Linked DNA regions of Homo sapiens: all the other regions are linked to region 1. Evidence: promoter capture Hi-C in 16 types of primary human blood cells and fetal thymus (Javierre and others, 2016). All regions are on one chromosome and are shown on one strand. Each heading gives the region's core, a stretch centred on a gene start or on the middle of the fragment in contact. The rest is flanking DNA. Distances are from core to core; before and after follow the strand shown. Region 1 holds the start of LRIT1 (leucine rich repeat, Ig-like and transmembrane domains 1). Region 2 has its middle 280 kb from the start of CCSER2. Region 3 has its middle 270 kb from the start of CCSER2. Region 4 has its middle 230 kb from the start of CCSER2. Region 5 overlaps CCSER2 (coiled-coil serine rich protein 2).

Evidence for each region. Contacts are between HindIII fragments. The CHiCAGO score rates a contact against its expected background, and 5 or more counts as called.
Region 2: a contact is called between a fragment that was not itself captured here and the fragment with the promoter of LRIT1 in region 1, in 1 of 17 cell types (naive CD8 T cells). The highest score is 5.5, in naive CD8 T cells.
Region 3: a fragment that was not itself captured here is called in contact with the fragment with the promoter of LRIT1 in region 1 in 3 of 17 cell types (non-activated CD4 T cells, activated CD4 T cells and M2 macrophages); the score reaches 6.0 in non-activated CD4 T cells.
Region 4: a contact is called between a fragment that was not itself captured here and the fragment with the promoter of LRIT1 in region 1, in 2 of 17 cell types (naive CD8 T cells and total CD8 T cells). The highest score is 6.3, in naive CD8 T cells.
Region 5: a fragment that was not itself captured here is called in contact with the fragment with the promoter of LRIT1 in region 1 in 1 of 17 cell types (activated CD4 T cells); the score reaches 6.9 in activated CD4 T cells.

What each region holds. Positions count from the first base shown.
Region 1 is chr10:84,240,090-84,242,895 of GRCh38, forward strand. It overlaps LRIT1 (leucine rich repeat, Ig-like and transmembrane domains 1), which reads right to left and starts at 1,457. Exons shown (of 4, transcript NM_015613.3): 1 at 1,229-1,457. The coding sequence starts at 1,350. The HindIII fragment of the contact is 15,150 bases long and covers 1-2,472 here.
Region 2 is chr10:84,611,023-84,613,828 of GRCh38, forward strand. No RefSeq gene overlaps it. Among named protein-coding and RNA genes, the nearest start is that of CCSER2, 280 kb to the left of the region's middle. The HindIII fragment of the contact is 5,833 bases long and covers 1-2,806 here.
Region 3 is chr10:84,594,035-84,596,840 of GRCh38, forward strand. No RefSeq gene overlaps it. Among named protein-coding and RNA genes, the nearest start is that of CCSER2, 270 kb to the left of the region's middle. The HindIII fragment of the contact is 225 bases long and covers 1,302-1,526 here.
Region 4 is chr10:84,553,320-84,556,125 of GRCh38, forward strand. No RefSeq gene overlaps it. Among named protein-coding and RNA genes, the nearest start is that of CCSER2, 230 kb to the left of the region's middle. The HindIII fragment of the contact is 8,206 bases long and covers 1-2,806 here.
Region 5 is chr10:84,510,985-84,513,790 of GRCh38, forward strand. CCSER2 (coiled-coil serine rich protein 2) reads left to right here. Exons shown (of 10, transcript NM_001284240.2): 10 at 2,465-2,806. Among named protein-coding and RNA genes, the nearest start is that of CCSER2, 180 kb to the left of the region's middle. RefSeq lists a silencer at 1,495-1,695. The HindIII fragment of the contact is 2,369 bases long and covers 237-2,605 here.

The DNA.
Region 1 (2,806 bases), core at 207-2,706:
TCACCAGATAAGTGTTCTGAAAACTGAATCGGAATGCCTGGGTTCCAGGACCGGTTTTGTCAATGATGCTGTGTGGCTTTCAGCCCTATGCCTTCTACGGGTGGTGGGAGGCTTTTTGTCACTCCAGTGACACTGCCCAGGCTGGGAACAGCAGGCTGTTCAGGGCTCAGCCTGGCTTCTACTGGGGACAGGACCCTTACACTTCATATGAGTTGATGCCTTGGACACTTGGGCTACAGTGGAGCTCATTCTGGTTCTCAGATCATTTGAGGTGTCTTTTCTTAGTGGTTCTTCTCCATTCTCCTCTCATCCCCCAATCAACTCGACATTCATTGCCAAGATTATTAAAAGGGTAGCTCCAATAACATTGTTCCCAGGATCAGAAACCATCAGTGGCTCAGAAACCATGCAGAGGTCATTAATGGATAAGCTAAAGAAGTTGGAGAAAAGATGATTTAAACGTTGCTAAAGAAAAGAAGAAAATGAGCAGTAGTGGAAGAGCAAGGGTCCACAAGCCACAGTGGCATGGGAATGTCCCATGAAAGGAGAGGAGGAGAGAATGGAGGTGCTCTGAGGGATCAGACAGAGGGTGGGGAAAGTCAAGGAAAAGGCTGGGGATGGAAGGAAGCATGCTTGTCATGGGATGGGCACTCCTGGCTTTTGGAGCACTCATAAAAAGGTATTGAGGCTGAGGCTCCTGGGATCTGGCCAGCGAAGATGGAGAGGAGGAAGAGAATGAGAGGCAAGTGGTCCCATCATGGGTGGGGTTGTAGGAAATGCCTGGGATATGATTGAATATTGTAGAGAGGTCAGGCAAGAGAGTGCAAGTGGCCTGGGAAAGAAGGGGCTGGGGAAATATAGAAAAGAAGAGGGAATAGAAAAAATAAAAGAGAAGAAAAAGCAGTAAGGGAGGAGATTTCCTGGACCTTTAAGGAGGGCTCTTCACCAGGAGCCTGGAGGAGGACTTAGGAAGGACTTCTTAGAACTGACATACTTGTGCCTCACCCTCGGGCCCATGTGTATAGATACCTGGTACCTCTCGAATAGAGTCACCCCCTTGCCTGCTGGAAAACAATGCAGCACAGTCCACCCCATAGGATCCCTGGTCCTCAAGGGCCAAGGGAGATGAAGACCTCACCCAGGGCCCCAGCTCCAACTCCTCCCAACCCAGCCTAGCTGGCAAAGCAATGGAGGCTGGGCTGCCCGTCCCACGCACCCGGTACCATACCTGGCCTTGCTGCCATCACCCATGATATGGAGGCTGCAGCTGCATTGAGAGGGGCAGAAGCCCCGGGCCTGGGGGGGCCACGCAAGGGCCAAGAGCCAGAGCATGCCTAATGCCACCCTCATGGCTCCTGGCTCCTCTCTGGCCCAGGCAGGGGCCTGTCCCTGGACCGCTCCGTCCCACCGGCCCAGCAAGCTCAGCAGCTGCCCACTTGCTCGCCAGCCCCTTACACCCCCTCCTGAGGCCATCGGATAAACATGGACAGACTGGGGATTAGGGAGGGGAGTCCCAGCCGCAGCACTCAGAGGCTTATTGCTTTCTGAATCACTCAGTCCTGAGGGTAGGGGCGGGGGACCCCCTTCCATAGCAATATCCACAGGCCCAGAGAGGCCAGGGCAGGGCACAGCAAAGCAAGACAAGTAGGCAGCTTTCCAGAGGCGAGCAGCCATGGGACTGTCATCTGCAAAGCATCCCATCCCAACAAGGCCACGGACAACACAGACCCCACTGGAGTGCCAGGGAAGATGGAGAAAGAACCCCCGCCTCAGTAAGGGCCTTTGGAAATTCTTTCCTGTGACACTGTCTCATAGCAAAAAAGCAGTGAAATGAAGCAACTCTTCCTGATGGTGCTAAAGGCATTGGAAGGAGGCTAAGCTCTGGACCCAGGCTTCCTGGGGTCAAATCCCAGCTGCTCCATTAAGGGGCTGTGACCTTGGGTGAGTCACATTATCTCTTGGCCTCTGTGTCCTTATCTGACAAAGAGAAATAAAGTTACTTCATGCAGGGTGTTTGTGAAAATCAAACTCAAATTCCAAGGCCTTGACAGCCTGTGGGAACAGAAGCTCTCTCACAAGTTGTAAGTGCCCAGTTTCACTGGTACTTATAAGACCCTACTTACAGAAGAACTGGACAGATTCAGATATTTTGGGGAGACATCAGAGGTGTCTCTCATGAGCCCACAAACTGTCCCAGGCTGCCAGGCAAACAGCTGCCTGCCTTGAGTGCCCCATGGATATGGACTCAACACACTACTATTTCAGCTGAGCCCTTCTGGGCATTGCTACGAATGCCAAAGGTGGAGATGTCTCCACATAAGGGACAAGGGCACCCCTCTCCTCAAGGTGCCCTACTCCAAGGAGGGCCCCAGAGAGGTAGCTCAGAGAGGTCTTAGAGAAGGCACTTTCAGGTTTTTTTGGAGACAGGACCCCAACCTCTAATAAGGGCCTTTGGAAATTCTCCATCCATAAAGCTTTGTTTTGCTTTATAGGGACAGGGTTGCTCTGTCACTCAGAGTGGAGTGCAATGGTGTAATCATAGCTCACTGTAGCCCCGAACTCCTGAGCTCAAGCCATCCTCCTGCCTCAGCCTCGCAAGTAGCTGGAACTGCAGGCAACCACCACCATGTTTGGCTATTTTTAAAAAATTATTTTTTGCAGTCAGGGTCTTGCCATGTTGCCCAGGATGGTCTCAAACTCCTGGCCTCAAGCGATCCTCCTACCTCAGTCTCCCAAAGTGCTGGGATTACAGGCCTGAGCCACTGCACCCAGACTAATTTCAATTTTTACTTATTCTCTCCTAACC
Region 2 (2,806 bases), core at 170-2,669, 370 kb after region 1:
TCAATAAAGTTTGAGCCTACCTTTTCATCCTCCAACAATTATTTCAGGTGCCGCTGTCAATCTGTTTGCATTCAATCTGTTGTGATATTCCATGCAAGTTGCCTCTGGAAACCCCTCTCTAGGCTTATGCAAGAATGAGAATGAAGAAGCTAGATTGTACTTAGTATTTTTATGCAAATAGTTTGCGTTTACAGACTCCATGGAAGGGTCATGGGTACTTCCATGGGTTTCTGAAACACACTTTGAGAACCACTGGCTGAAATAACATAAAAGTTCTGGTATTTGGAAGTTCTCACTTATAAGTGGGAGCTGAACAATGAGAACACATGGACACAAGGACGGGAACAACACATGCTGGGGCCTGTCGGCAGGTGGGGTGTGGGGAGGGAGAGCATTAGGAAAAATAGCTAATGCATGCTGGGCTTAATACCTAGGTGATGGGTTGATAGGTGCAGCAAACCACCATGACACGCATTTACCTATGTAACAAACCTGCACATCCTGCATGTGTACTCAAGAATTTAATTTTTTTTTTTTTGAGATGGAGTTTTACTCTTGTTGCTTAGGCTGGAGTGCAATGGTGAGATCTCGTTTCACCACAACCTACACTTCCTGGGTTCAAGCGATTCTCCTGCCTCAGCCTCCTGAGTAGCTGGGATTACAGGTGCCCACCACCATGCCCAGATAATTTTTTGTATTTTTATTAGAGACGGGGGTTTCACCATGTTGGCCAGGCTGGTCTTGAATTCCTGACCTCAGGTGACCCACCTGCCTTGGCCTCCCAGAGTGCTGGTATTACAGGTGTGAGTCACTGTGCCCGGTCCTTACATTTTTAAAAAATAAGTCCTGGTATTTTTTTTTTTTTTTTTGAGACAGAATTTCACTCTTATTGCCCAGGCTGGAGTGCAATGGCGCAATCTCGGCTCACCACAACCTCTGCCTCCCAGGTTCAAGCGATTCTCCTGCCTCAGCCTCCCAAGTAGCCGGAATTACAGGCTTGCGCCACCACACCTGGCTAATTTTGTGTTTTTAGTAGAGACGGGGTTTCTCCATGTTGGTCAGGCTGGTCTCGAACTCCCGACCTCAGGTGATCCATCCACCTCGGCCTCCCAAAGTGCTGGGATTACAGGTGTAAGCCACCGTGCCCTGCCAGGTCCTGGTATTTCATTGCTTTCTTTTTCAGGTGGAGCTTTACAGTATGTCTTAGCCTTGACCTGTGGAAAGGCAGACGTGCTGCTGCAGCCCTGGCTTGGCTGCTACCTGAGGGCCCTCGTGAAGCTCTGGGTCCTGGCCATGCTGTGGTGGCTTCTGGCTATACAGATAATGAGAGGAGGTGAGCAGCGGTGGGAAGGGAAGAGGAGGGGGCCCTGAGAGGGAATCAGGAGCTGAGCCTGAATCCTGAGGTCTAGGAAGGGCTGTGTGTCCCGGGGGGAGCCACTTCCTCTCCAAGAGCCCCAGCCCTTGTCTGCAGCAGGGGGTTGAGTAGATACCTAAGGGTCCTCCCAGTTAGACAGATGCTGAGATTCTGATCCGGAGTCTCACATAGCCCTGTTGTCCTGTCTGCTTTTGGGAAGGAGCTTCCTCCTGAAGGAAACTGACCATGACTATGCGAGTGGCCAGGCTCCCACTCTTATCATCCATCTGCTTCATATGGCAATAGCTTGATCGTCATTTCTTTCATTACCAAAGTATTAAAATATGTAACAATAGAAAAAAAAAGAAAAATGACAGGAATAAGCATTATAGTCCTCTTTCCTAGGGACAGCCCCTGCTGACACGAGGGGGAGCATCTTTCCAGTCTTTGTCTTGTGCTTATAGTTCATGCTTTATCTTTGCCAGATCATTTCTTCTTAAATACAGCGTTATAACGTGACTTTCAGCAATTGAATAACGTGAACGCTTTATTCTAGCATTCAAGGCTGTCTATCTTTACAGACTTGTCTTTTACGCTTTCCCTCTCTGTGTCTCTCACTCGCACTCTTGCTTCTCCCCAAATGAACCCTGTCGATCCCCTCTCATGCTGTAGAAGCCATCTCCCGGGGCTTAGCACTCCACCTCTAAACTGAATCTATTCTGTGACGCTGGGAAATTCTGACTTAATCATTCCGCACCTTGCTTCCTTGATTACTCCACAGTATCTTTTGTGTTCCTGATCTTATGTCATTTCTGAAGGCTTACCGTATCCTCTGGCTGTCTGTCCACTCTGCTTGTGTGTTCCCACAGCTGTTATTCATACCTTAATCGGCACCTTTCTCACTGTATTGTAATTGTCTGCATGCTTCTTATTTAACGCCAGTTCTGGAGCTGCCCGCAGTGTTGCACGCTGAGTATTTGCTGTCTGGGTTGAGTGTGTGTGTGCGGCTGGTCAGATGCCAGGCGCTGTCTGTGTCACCCAGTGTGTGCACATGGTTGGTTACTTGGGTGTCCTGCTAAACCATGAGCCCCCTGCAGGCAGAGTCCACACAGAATGGATCCATTCCCATTTGTAGGGCTGGGAAAAGCTCCTCCTGGCAGGGCTGGGTAGACTCTGGCCTGTGACGCTTAGGGCTGGCTGAATTCAAGACCACAAGATGTCAGTGTTGTCTCAGCCACAGAGGAACAGCCAGGGCTGTGGCTCTTATGCCTTGCCTAGGTAATTCTGTGAGTTGGGCAAAGCCCAATTTAAACAAAATATGTGTGTCTGTGTGTTATCTTTTGCCCTGTCTTCAAATCCAACAGCCAACAGAGTAGGTGGCCAGTGAATTCGTTGCTGATCATGGGTCTTGTCAAGGTACAGAGGCAACGTGTCTTTCTTGGGGGAACTGGG
Region 3 (2,806 bases), core at 164-2,663, 350 kb after region 1:
TACCCTAGCGCATGCCAGTAGCTTTCGATCTTTAGAAGCTGATTCCATGAATCCTTTGAATTTTCCTGTTTAAACCTTTTTGCTCATGCCTGAGACCCATGTATAAGATTATCAGACACAAATAGGTTGGGCCAGAAAAAAATGTCAGTTGGAGTCTGCAGATGGCACAGAGAGGAAGACCAAAGCGTGGGTCACACTGGCGAGGCACAGGTGTGTGGGGAGCGCAGGGTGAGAATTAAAAAGTGGCCCCAAGTTCCCGGAGTGGGCTTCATGTCACGGACTTGGTGACCTACCCTGCGTGTGGGTCTATTATTTTATTTTTATTTTTTTGAGACAGAGTCTTGCTCTGTCGCCCAGGCTGCCGTGCAGTGGCGCGATCTCCGCTCTCTGCAAGCTCCACCTCCCGGGTTCACGCCATTCTCCTGCCTCAGCCTTCGGAGTAGCTGGGACTACAGGCGCCCAACACCATGCCAGGCTAATATTTTTGTATTTTCAGTAGAGGTGGGGTTTCACCGTGTTAGCCAGGATGGTCTCAATCTCCTGACCTCGTGATCCACTCGCCTCGCCTCCCAAAGTGCTGGGATTACAGGCGTGAGCCACCGCCCTCGGCCATGTGGGTCTATAGATTCTCCATAGTTTCTACTTGGCGGTGCCCTGCGTAGCTTTCTTTTTTCTGTCACCTTGGTCATTGCATCTGCATTTTTAGCACTGTCTCTAAGTTTTCTCTGAATCTGAGTCTTCCCTTTATCACCATGGCATCTTATTCCCATTTTCTTTGCTGATCACTGTTTTCAGTGGGAGGGACTCTTGCATCCTTGGGGCACTTTATGTGTGGGCCTCTTTTTCAATAATTACATACATCATCTCATTTTTCATAACAGTATTTTGAGGTGGGTAAGAGAGATTAACCTGCCCAAGGAACACAGCTGGCGTGAGGCCGACTGAGGATGCCAGTCCGCTTGGTAGGTGGGCTTCATGCCCCCTCCCCCTCCTCTTGTTAGTGACCAGTGACTATTGACATCTTTTATGTAGTAGACATGGATACATTTCCGGCTGTAGTGGCTTCTAAATTGTGGAATATTAGTCAGGAGATGAGTTCTGCTGAGGGGCACTCAGCAGTTGGTTCCTCTAAAAAGAAGATAAGACATTTAGAAAGACGTCTGCAACAAGTGTTGCACAGGGATGGGAGTTACTAATCCAAAAAAATTGAAATAAGAGGACACTTTTAGGCGATGCTTGAACATGGTATAGATGTTACCTAGATGTTAGGTAGTGGAGAGGTGGGCTAAGTTGGAGACTCAAGCTTGTATCTGGTCATGGAGAGCTGTAAGCATTCAGTCAAGGAGTTTTGACCTTTGGTATAAATCTTATTTCACAGCAACAGGGTATGACATGCCATATTCCTTTATTTCTCTTAATCAGATTAAATTTGCTCTCAGACTTCACCTATCTGGCTGGGAGGATACCCAGTAGCAATTACTAATGAGACTTCTTCCTCTCCACCATGGTGTCATCAAAGGATCTGAAGCTTATCTGGTGTCGGAAAAATTTAGAGAGGACCCAGGTTCCTCTTTCTCATGTGATCACGATTGTTCCTCTGGCTACCTAATACAGCTGAGGAGTAATTGTCCCCTCCTTCTGGCAAAAATACTTCCTCTCAGGGCCTGGCGCAGTGGCTCATGCCTGTAATCCCAGCACTTTGGGAGGCCGAGGCGGGCAGATCATGAGGTCAGGAGATCGAGACCATCCTGTCTAACACAGTGAAATCCCGTCTCTACTAAAAATACAAAAAAATTAGCAGGCCATGGTGGCGGGCGCCTGTAGTTCCAGCTACTCGGGAGGCTGAGGCAGGAGAATGGTGTGAACCCAGGAGGCAGAGCTTGCAGTGAGCCGAGACTGCGACACTGCACTGCAGCTTGGGCAACAGAGCAAGACTCCATTTCAAAAAACAAACAAACAAACAAACAAAAAAACTTCCTGTCTGCTGGCTTCTGCTTTTATCCTGAAAGTTTTCACCTTCATCCCCTCCTTTTACATGACCAGCTTTAGTTTAGGATTGCATTCACACACACACTCACACTCACACAAAACTCTTAAGCTTCTCCAAGAGTAGGGAGAGGTAAAGATAAGGAGAGCTCAGAGTTTTAGAAATAAAGCTGGGCTATCTTTCCTGGAGTGGAGATTGGGCAAGGAGGTACTAACACTAGTTAGTTTCTGTCTTAATAACTCCTTTAGGTATTGAGCTAGTCCATGAGATAAGGCGACCTCTCTAGAAATTCTTTTTTTTTTTTTTTGAGACAGAGTCTCGCTCTGTTGCCCAGGCTGAAGTGCAGTGGCACGATCTTGGCTCACTGCAAGCTCCACCTTCTGGGTTCAGGCCATTCTCCTGCCTCAACCTCCCTAGTAGCTGGGACTACAGGCGCCCACCACCATGCCTGGCTAATTTTTTATATTTTTGGTCGAGATGGGGTTTCCCCATGTTAGCCAGGATCCTGACCTCGTGATCCACCCGCCTCTGCCTCCCAAAATGCTGGGATTACAGGCGTGAGCCACCGTGCCCAGCCCCTTTCTAGAAATTCAGAGTAGGAAAGTGACAAGTTAGTGATGGTCTTTGGGAAGATCAACTTGGCATTGCTCATTTTCTGGTTTGCAGTGGCAGAAATGGCATCTTTCCCCAGTGCCTAGCACAGGACCTGCCCTGCAGTCAGAGCTTGATGCGCATTTATTCATGCATGTGTGCATAAAGTAATGGCAAACTATTGCAATGGTGCAGAAGAGAGAGCCAGTCCCTGAGTGATGAACATGA
Region 4 (2,806 bases), core at 104-2,603, 310 kb after region 1:
TTATTTTATGTGGGGCATTGTGTACAGAATATCAATATATAGAACTAGAAAAGGATTGGGCATTACACAGTGAGCCTAGATATGGAGCTGGGTAAAATACCCAATAAGGCATTGCTTTAGGGAACATGAGTACATATTTCTGGGGGTAGTTTTATTATTTCAGATGAGACCATTACTGTTGTGTGATTGGGAAGATTAAGTATAGAAGAAGGTCATGTGCTGTGTTGGACAGTTAAAGGAGTGAACTACAGTAGACATTTCTCATTCTCTTTGGCCATCCAGAAGCATTGGATATATTTCCTGTGCTTGAGGAATTTCCCACTTTATGTATCATGGTGAGAGGTAAAGACTATCTCCTCCATGGATATTTCCTAGCCTCCCTTGTAGCTGAAAATTAGGCATTTGACTCTGGCTTTGCCACTTAGTTATACTTTTCCAGACTTTGATTCAGAAGCTAATAACATAGAAAGAAATACCGAAGCATTCTGGTAGGGTTTGTGGCAGATACGTGAAGCCTGCAGAGGCAGATTTTCTCATTGTGACAGACAGTGCTTTACATCCATTGGGTCAATGAGGCAAGCTGCAATGTCTGTGCCCAGGGAGGATGGCAATGGTGACTCCACTGTTTCAGTTCTGTGGAGTAATTTGGGGGCCCTTCTCTGATGAAATACCAGGTCTGATTTTCTGGTCCTTCCAGAGTTTTCCTGTCTTTTAACACATTTTATTTCTGTTTAAAATAGCTTGACTTATTTGTTTACATTAAGAATTCTGGGCTGGGCGTGGTGGCTCACACCTGTAATCCCAGCACTTTGGGAGGCCAAGGTGGGCGGATCCCGAGGTCAGGAGATTGAGACCATCCTGGCTAACTTGGTGAAACCCCGTCTCTACTAAAAAAATACAAAAAAATTAGCTGGGCGCGGTGGCAGGCGCCTGTAGTCCCAGCTACTTGGGAGGCTGAGGCAGGAGAATGGTGTGAACCCGGGAGGTAGAGCTTGCAGTGAGCCGAGATCACGCCACTGCACTCCAGCCTGGGCGACAGAGCAAGACTCCGTCTCGGAAAAAAAAAGAATTCTGACTGCTGCAGGAAAAACAACAACCAGCACAATGACAACAAACTAGTATAGTGATCTTTGTATAATTGCCTTGTATCCAGTCACCAAATCACATTCACTTGAATTCATCATAACAGTACTTTTAAAATGAGTCTCTTCAAGGAATACTATTGTGTCATATATAAATTAATGCTAAACGACGAGTTAATGGGTGCAGCACACCAACATGGCACATGTATACATATGTAACAAACCTGCACGTTGTGCACATGTACCCTAAAACTTAAAGTATAATAATAATAATAAAAAAGATAATTCTCTTTCTTTTTTTTCCCAAGTAATATAATGGATGAAAGTATGGTTGGTAGAATTAATCAATAGTCACTATTCCTTGTGTCTGTTCAACTGGCTGCAAATGCTAGGTTCCTGTATTCCTTTACTCAGGGCTGTCCTGTGAGCAGACTAGGGATTGCTGTGGTCTAAGATAAAGCAAATTTTGGCCTGGATATAATTAGTACCAAAACTCTCTTGCCTGTACAGCTTGGCTTGGTGATGGCCAAATGTAAATACTATAAAATGTAAATGGATCCTAATGAGTAGAGATGGTTACCTACAAAATGCAGCTAAAAGTAGAATGAACCAAAGTACTTAAAGAAGGACAAGCTAAAAAACAAGACTTTATTAAAGTTGCAAAAGTCAGGAGAAAGCAGAGAGAAAGATAAGAAAGTGAACTCAGAATCAGGAACCAGGAAAGACTGGGATGAATCAGGAAAAAGACTAAAAGCAAAACGAGAGAAGTACTAGGTGGTGGGCAATGATCTGTAGTCTCCGGTTTACCTCTATTAATTATAAGATGAATAGTGTGTGAATTGCTTGAACAAACCATAGATGCCCAGAGTTTATAAACTGAACCCTTATTCCCACAGAACTAGACTCCTGCTTTGACTCTCCACTCTGCAGTTAGTTTGATCACCTGCTTAAAGCAGGGCTAAGCTCCCAAATGGGAGGAAATGTATTATTGCTCTGAATTAAGCCTGTCCTTAGAGGTGGATTGGACTATTATCTAATCATTGCCAGAAGTAGGACATTAGATCAATATTCCAAAACCCAAGTCATTATTTTTTATAAGTGTCTGCCAAAATTTAAAAAGTATATGGAAACCTTTTTACAAAGTTTAGACATTAAAGCAAGAACCGTCTGCATGAATGTGTACATGTGTTTTTGTATATGTATATTGTGTATATGAGTGTGATTTACATATATAAATCACTATAAATAAATACACACGGTAAATTTAACACTACAAAAGGTAAAAGCCTTCTTCTATTTTCAGTACTATCCCTTAAAGGTAGCCACTACTGACAGTTTCTGTGTATATTTCCTAAAAGGTTTATATAATTATAGTGTATTAATATATGTAAATATTTATACATTTGTATCCTTTCCTTTTTAATACATATAAGAAATATACTATTTATCCTTTTACTCTATTCATTTAAAAACATGAATTGGAATTTTTTCTGTGCAAGCACATATAAATGCTTCATTCTTTTTAAAAAGTCGAGTGGTATTCCATTGTGTGTGTGTCAGTCCATTCTTGCATTGCTATAAAGAAATAACCTGAGACTGGGTAATTAATGACGAAAATAGGCTTAATTGACTCACATTTCCACTGGCTGTATAGGAAGCATGACTGAGAGGCCTTAGGAAACTTACAATCATGGAGGAAGTGAAAGGAAAGCAGGCACCTCTAC
Region 5 (2,806 bases), core at 171-2,670, 270 kb after region 1:
ATTTGGGGATAGGGAAATTATATCATGCCACAAAAATTAATTTTTAATAAAAATATAAAATTTTATTTCGCATATAGAAACCACTGATTTAGTTAATGTAATTCACTAGTAGTATAGATGTCTAACTTGTAGTTTAGACATTTATTTATAAAACTGTTAAATTCCTCTCGGTTGACTCAACATTTTGTTATTCTTTAAAAACTGGATGTTTTCTAATTCATTAATATTTGATATGAAGCTTTATTGCATTTAATACAAGTAGCTTGTCTTTCTGACTCTGCTGTATTTCCGTTTATTTCTCTGATAAGCAGTGGTCAGTTGGGTACTGTGAGTAATCAAAACAGTACAAGTGGTGAGTACAAAACAGTACAAATTTATAGTGCACAATGGCCCTTTCCTGGGCATTTCTGGAGGTAGGTTGTCTTAATAATCAGTTTATTACCTGTCTTAATTGAAAAATCATCTTTTTATGCTTTTCACTGATAGCACATGTTTATACCTTTTTTCTTATTGGCAATAGACATATTACAATAAAGTCCATTTTTAAATTGTCACTGATATTTTCAGAAGTCTTAAATTGCTTTAAGAGTTTTAACTTGGAACTAGAATATCTTACCATGTTTGAGGGTGAAAAGGAAAAACAAATCCCCATTCAACCAACCAATTGATCGTGCCTCCTTCCTAATTACTTTTTATTCCCTTTGGTAGATTTTGGTTTGTTTAATATGGTCCTGCTCTATTTTTTCACTAATCTTTCAAGGTTTTTGATCACTTTGGCACGGTCATTTTTATCTAGGGAACCCCAGGGAGAATCTGTTGATTTAATTATGTGGTGATTTTAGTATCTTCCGTTTTGCGGGACAGTTCATTCATTTTTGTGTTGATGTGCTGTGAAAATACCCAGTGACTTTAAAGTCTGGGATATTTAGCTTGAGGCAGCAATTGAGCTGACTTGTTTATTTCAAACATTCTGCAATACGATTTGATGTGACATATTTCTGTACAGATTAATTTTGAGTAGTCACTGTCTTGATTTTTTTTTAATGCAAGTCAGCTGTATGCCATCATAGCCAACCATCCTCCATGAGTTGATGAGCCTTGCCCTCAGTCACTCCCAATCCAGCCATAATCTAATCCCTGGCTGCTGATCCTGGGCAGCCATTGTCCAGTGCTGGTCAGGGAGGTGGAAGAACTGAAAAAAACACAAATGATGCAGTATAAATAGATCCGCCCCTTCTATTGGGGAAATTAGAGCTACTATGTAGATTTATTTGTGGATTAGCATAGCAAAAAAAACTTATTAGTGAGAAATGGCCCTCTGAATTTCATGTTGTAAAGCCCTTTGCCAAAGTTTTTGACATTTTAGCCCACATTATTTAAACAGTGTGTGTGTGTGTGTGTGTGTGTGTGTGAGAGAGAGAGAGAGAGAGAGGAGAGAGATAATGCATTTGTAGCAAATACCCCTGTATCAGGACAGGCCCAGTTGGCCCTGCCCATATATTTTAACTATTTGGGCCATTGAAAGATAGCTTTCAGATTTGTATTTTTTACTGGATACCCCCAAATCATGGAAATGGCATAGTTCCTCTGATTGTTTTTGAAACATAACTACACAATGAGCTTCAGGGAAGTACATGTGAGGCACACAGACCCTAAGAACCTTGTCATAGGCTTCTGTTCTTTAGTTGCAGTTAGAGGCAACTTCACATTTGTTTTACTCTGAGCCATCATTCAAAAGGCTGATTATTCTAAATTTAAGTAAATGAATGTTTACTTTTCATTAGGGTAGATCTGTTTTTCACATGTCAGCCATAATAGGAGTGAGACAGAACAAATAAACTTTGAAACATTTTATTTGGAAACTTTTCAACAAGAATATTAAAAATAGGTTAGCATTAGCTAAATGTCTCGACCTATATTTGTTAAATAAATAGAATTTCACATAAACTGAGAATATAGTGATTTACTCTAAATCTTGTTTATCTGCTGGTGCTTTTCATTCTTGACAGAAGAACAACACTTGTTAACATGGTGTACAACTTTTTTTTTTAACTTTAATGTAAGTAGTATTCCGAAGGTCACCGTTAACACCTGAATGTTTTGTGGAGGTTAAACCAAAAGCTGTAGAATCATTCTGTCAAGCTCTAAGGTTTAAAATACCTAATGAATCTATTATGGCAGGAATTTTTTCTATAATAAATTAGTACTTTAATGTTTTCTTTTTCTCATTTAATTTTGGATCTTGTTCAGTGTTTACTGCCTGTATCATTTTTTGTTTGCATTATCACTCTTGTATGTGTCTAATTTGCTTGAATATTGCAGTTCATTTTTTAATTAAAAGAAACTCCACATATTTTCCATATTAAAGCCATAATAAGTACCAACACAGCCTAATTGGTATTTATATTAAATCTGGGTGGAATTTCTAAGAACTTGCTGCTAATGTTGTTTTTAATTTTAACAGCCTCAAGTACTACAGCCTTCCAGCAGCCTTCCCAGACCCACAGATCACACCCAGGGAAAACTAATAAAGCCACAACGTATCGAGGCCCGCAGTGAATGCTCAATCCAAGACATGCATCAGGGCGGTGCACATCCGGAAGAAAGCTTTACACACGTCTTGCACCAAGAAAGCAACTATGGTTTGGAAGAGCAGCCTTTTTCATCAGGCCCACAATTAACAATGGATGTGGCTAAGAGTACACCTTCTGAAGCAAACTTAAACATTACTGTAAATGCTCAAGAGCCTTATCATTTGGCAAACAATCAAATTAGTGACATGCAGTTTATACCCACTTCTCTTCAG